Regions from separate parts of the Homo sapiens genome. Here region 2 is linked to region 1. Evidence: promoter capture Hi-C in human tissues and cell types (Jung and others, 2019). All regions are on one chromosome and are shown on one strand. Each heading gives the region's core, a stretch centred on a gene start or on the middle of the fragment in contact. The rest is flanking DNA. Distances are from core to core; before and after follow the strand shown.

The links. Contacts are between HindIII fragments. The study calls those that stand out against the background at their distance.
Region 2: a contact is called between a fragment that was not itself captured here and the fragment with the promoter of GRB14 in region 1, in 1 of the 25 tissues and cell types used here (hippocampus).

Annotation. Positions count from the first base shown.
Region 1 is chr2:164,620,134-164,622,879 of GRCh38, reverse strand. GRB14 (growth factor receptor bound protein 14) reads left to right here and starts at 1,398. Exons shown (of 14, transcript NM_004490.3): 1 at 1,398-1,761. The coding sequence starts at 1,571. The HindIII fragment of the contact is 12,551 bases long and covers 1-2,746 here.
Region 2 is chr2:164,655,313-164,658,058 of GRCh38, reverse strand. It overlaps a transcript of COBLL1 not described here. Among named protein-coding and RNA genes, the nearest start is that of SNORA70F, 31 kb to the left of the region's middle. The HindIII fragment of the contact is 5,343 bases long and covers 1-2,746 here.

The DNA of each region.
Region 1 (2,746 bases), core at 149-2,648:
ATGGACTGGTATGGTGTGGTCCAGGGCCCAGGGGTTGGGGACCCCTGGTATAAAAGATCCCAGAGATCACACCCGCTGTGACCCAGGTCACTTCTGGGCCTTAATTTTGACATTAGGAAAATAAAGAACTTGGATTCCCTGAACTGTGACTCAAGGATTTTCTGTCTTCACGGAGTGCCCCAGGTTTCCTCACAGGTTGGGAATTAGTGACCCCTGGGTTCTCCAGTGGTCGGTGCCTCGGTGGGAGAGAATGCACTGAGATGGGGGAGGGGAGCTGCTGCTTTCTTCTGGAGGCAGTGTTTACCTTTCCCTGGGCAGAGGTTGTTGAAATTAAGAAAACCTGGTAAAGCAGATGCCAGGGACAGATATTACCTAATTTGGTCAAAGAACAAAGACCCTGTGAAACATTTGGAAATCCTCAACGGTGCATAGGGACGGGCACACTTACTGGAAGAGCAGAAACAGGATCACCCAGCATTTCAGAGTAGGGTTGCTGCATCTCAGAGGGTGAGCATAATAATGTCATTACTATTTCGAACAGTCTGGGTTTTTGAGAAGGAAGCTTCTGGGTTGGAATATTGACTCCACCAGCTACTAGTGCTATGTTACTAGTGCAAGGTACTCGATGGCTTTGAGCCCCAGTTTCCTTTTGTGTAAAATGAGATAAACATCTAATTTATGGAGCTGTTGAGAGGATGGAATAGGTAGCGTAAGGCAACCTGGAATTCATTAATGTAAGCTTCTCTCATTACCATAAAACTAATAGTCTTTCTAATTCCAGACACCTTCAGGTTTACTCATGCTTTACTGAGAATTCTCAAAATCTCAGTAGTTTTCTATAATGATTGGACTCCTTGCTCCCTATCAACCCCCCAATCTTTGGCTGCGGAGTGGATGGAAGAAGAGGCACGTGGGGAAGGACTGGGGCAAACCCTCTGGTGTCCTGGCCTCCTGGCCCGGTGGGGACTGTCATGGCGGCCCAGCAACAGCTTAGGTGATCTCAGATGGCAGAGCAGAAAGAATGCAAGGGTATGAGGGTCAGGGCTGCGCGGACCCCTATCCCGCCTGCGGTCCTCCCGGCAAGCCCAGCGGGAGCGCCCGCTCGGCTGGGTCCCCGCCTCCAGCGGCGCCGGGGCCGCCCAGACCCTGGGCTCAGCCTCGCGCCCCGGTGCCCACCTGAGGAGGCAGCGGTCCCGGCCTCGCGTCCCGGATGGGACGGCGCGGGAGCAATGCCAGTGGCCCCGAGCGCCCCGGGCCACGCGCGGGGCCGGCCAGCCGCTCTCGCGCCCTCCCCGCCCCCTCCGCGCCTTGCCTCGCCGCCCGCGGCCCCCACCCACCGGCCGCTCCTCCCCTCTCCCCACCCTCCTCCTCCGCCCCCTCCCCTCCCCCGCCGCCTCGCAGATAGCTCGGCCGCGCGTCTCAGCCGCCGGGGCCCCGAGCGCAGGCGGCGAGGCCACCACACCTGCAGAGCGCTCGGGCTGCCTAGCCGGCACCTCGCCTCCCGCCGCGCAAACCCCTTCTCCCCACGCGCCGAGTCTCCCATGACGCCCGAGCCCCCCGGCCGGCGACAATGACCACTTCCCTGCAAGATGGGCAGAGCGCCGCGAGCAGGGCGGCTGCCCGGGATTCGCCGCTGGCCGCCCAGGTGTGTGGCGCTGCCCAGGGGAGGGGCGACGCCCACGACCTGGCGCCGGCCCCCTGGCTGCACGCGCGAGCGCTCCTGCCCCTTCCGGACGGGACCCGCGGCTGTGCTGCAGACAGGTAGGCAACCCTGGAGGGCGCGGGGGAGTGTCCTGGCTGGGCAGCCGGCGAGGGGGTGAGGAGGCGGTCCTAGGGGGTGAGCCATGTGCCCAGAGCTGGGCCAAGTTTGTAAAAGTCTCTGAAGACAATCCCCTTTGAGCTGGCTCCTACCGGATCAGCAGGACATTGCGATCTCACAGCGCCTTATAAATAGCATCACCGTTTCATTGAGAGCTCTCATCTCTCTCGCCTCTGCCCATCGGTGGTGAAACTAGGAGCTCAGGCTGCAGGCTGATCACCTTCTGTTCCTTCGTGGCCATGCATTTTCACAAAGTAAACTCTATTTTATTTTATATATTTTAAAAAAATCGTAGCATAAATGTATTCACCTCCCACATAGAGTCTTACAGCGACCCTGTAGAAGCAAAGCATGGATTGACATTCGAGCAGTCTTGCTGTTCGGCAGGAAAGAATAGAGGCTTTAAAGGGTTTCCCAATCTCCATAGCATTCAGCACTAAGTGCCTTTAGAGTTGCACATACTTTCGGAAAGAAAAAGGGTTACAGCAATACAAAAATCTATAGTCCTTTATATTCATACATTTAAATGTTACTTTTTTTTTCCTGATTTTCAAAGCGCTCCAACTTCAGTGAAGTTAAAATTACTCTCCAGTGGACTATAGTACATTTATACTAGCAAGTTCTATTAACTTACCGCCTCAAAACACTGCCTTGCTGTTTAATATCTATAAGCGCTTGAAAAATCAACAGACTGTGTGTGGGCAACATTGTGAATGAAATTTGAAGTGAGATGAACCACAGCTATAATTAATAAATCATAACTTCCAAAAGTGATTAGTAAAATATCATAAGGATGAATGCACTAAATGCAACTTAGAGACTGTCAATATCATGGATGCATAACAATGTATGACTTCTCAGGTGATGTTTGGATTAGTAATTGTATAGTCTATTTTTCTGTTTCAGGAAAATTATCAAAAGTGATGG
Region 2 (2,746 bases), core at 136-2,635, 35 kb before region 1:
TGTTGCCTGAGAGCACAGCGGGAGGGACAATGATCGGGATATAAACCCAGGCATTCAAGCCGGCAACAGCAACCCCCTTTGGGTCCCCTCCCTTTGTATGGGAGCTCTGTTTTCACTCTACTTCACTCTATCAAATCTTGCAACTGCAAAAAAAAAAAATGGATCATTTGTAAAGACCGTAGCCATATTACCATTGGTAAGAACTCCATGTTGTTGAAACCATGAATAACCTTCATTCCTTCCATGATGAACATGTGGTTCTTGAGTCCACTGTAATTTTCTGAGAAAGAAGGGTGACCTATGTCTACTGAGTGGGTCACCTTATTCACACTAGAGGCTTTGTGGTGAATATAACTTTCCAAGAAATATATTCTCGTTCTGGGCTCACTATAAAGGGTCATACCCCTTCAGCATACCCTTTCCCTAAACTTCCTCCACAATGCTCCGAGTTCACTATTTTCAAGTGCCTGGCTGTCTAACCAGTGCCTTAACAGCTGAATTGGTGTAGGTTCCTGTTCTAGTTATTGTTGTTGCATAAAAAATTAACCCACAGCTTTGTGTTTTAAAACAATCACTTTATTCTAATCATGGATTCTGTGGGTAAGGAATTGGAGTGGGAGACAATTTATCTTTGCTCCATGATGTCTGTGACCTCAGTTAGGAAGTCTCGAAGCCTGGGGATGACTCAATGACTGTGGGCTGGAAGCATCTGAAAGCTTGTTCATTCACATATCTAGTACCTAAACTGGTCTGACTCAAAGACTAGGACTGGTGACTGGGGCATCTACACGCAGCCTGTCTTGGCAACCACACAGCATGTGACAACTACAGGGTAGTAGGATTTGTTCCAGGTGACCACAGGAAATAATTTAATTAGCTGTTTCACTTTTCCATGCTAGGATGAGGCAGATCTAAATTCCATCCCTAAAATGATTAGGATTTAAAATTCCTTCAGCCTCAACAAGGTCAGATACAAACCCTAGATTCTGCCCATTTCACTGAGGCTCTGTGCTGTAACTAGCGACTGGTAACAATTTCTGTTTAAATGAGGGTCTTTTGCTGCACAACAAAAACAGACTCTGGCTTTACTAACCAGAAAAGAACTACACTGGAAGAATATAGGTTGGCTCAGACAGTCCATAGGAAGGCTAAATAACCACGCTCAGGAAATGGGCCTTAGAGAGTGGGAAGAGAAAATGTATCTAAACTTATATCTCAGTAACAGCTTGATAGGACATTGTCACTAGCAGTGCCACCACTAGGTCCTCACCATTGCTGCTGGCATGAACAGCTACCACTACTATGACTACTTGACCTAGTCAAGTTTTACTGCCTCCTCCAGAACAACCTCTAACTATCCCAATATGTCACTTACTACAGATCCAACATTCCTGCATTGAATATCCTGTTGGTTTACTAAGAGACATGCCTATATCTTAGTTCATGGGGTGAGAAGAGAGGTTAAATGTTCTTTCCCATTCCCTAGAGGGAAGTGGGGTTTTTGCCCCACCACATTTACACAACAAAATTGCTCCCAAGTAGAAAAGGGGCTTAGATTATATGTAGACAAAAATAAAGCAAATACCCACTGAACATATTAATCTCATTATTCAATAATTAAAATGATTGAATGGGTGAATTAAGAGTGAATTAGTTCATATAATTGCTTTAACTCTTTTCATTTATAAAATAAGGGTTTGACCTATGATCTCTGATTTTTATTATAACTTTAAATTCTTTTTTAAAAATTATTGTCAGCCGGACATGGTGGCTCATACCTAAAATCCCAGCATTTTGGAAGGCTGAAGTGAGAGGATCACTTGAGACCAGGAGTTCGAGACCAACCTGGGCAACAGGGAGACACTGTTCCTACAATAAATAAATAAATAAATATTTAAAAATTAGCCAGGCATGGTGGTGCATGCCTGCGGTCCTAGCTACTCAGGAGGCTGAGGTGGGAGGATCACTTGAGCTTGGGCTGTCAAGGCTGCAGTGAGCCATTACTGGGCCATTGCACTCCATCCTGGGCAACAGAGCAAGACTCTGTCTTAAAAAAAAGAAAAAAAAATATTGTCAGTATTATTTGCAGAGTCTCATCCACATGGTGGAGCCATATGCCCAGGACTTGGCAGTACCCACTGCACGAATATCATGAAACTCCTAATGAACCAAGTGGGCTAACATTTTGATGTTCCAATGACTTGTTTTGTGTGTGTGTATAAAACAGGTGTAACTAAAGATTGTTGAACAAAGTTGGTTAAATGTAGTGCTTCTGCATCTAATTTTCCATTGTGTGAGCAGAAATGTGAGAATTTTTTTTTTACATCATCTCATTTTGCTTTCTGAACTACAGCACAGATTGATTGTCTAGAGAGAGTGTATAAACTAGCAGACAGCAAACTCAGGAAACACCTTTCCCAAGGATGTAGGTTCTTGGTACAGAAACCCTTTCATGAGAGACTAGGTTCCAAGGTTTACTATGAGGAAATTTGGGAACTTTCTGTTTAATTCACCTCCTCTGAGTCATTCCTTCAGTAGCCTAGATCTCACCTCTGAGAATGATTCAGCCTTTTTAAGCCAATACAGAATCTTTTAAGCCAATACAGAATCTTTTCTCCCTCCTTTGGGAAAGATTGCAAATATTCTTGGAGCAAAAGGTGATGACACTCCAGAACTGGCTGGCTTTCCTCTTCACAGTGGATCTGTGATGGTTCCCAAGGAAAATACCTACAGGGAATCTCCCTGG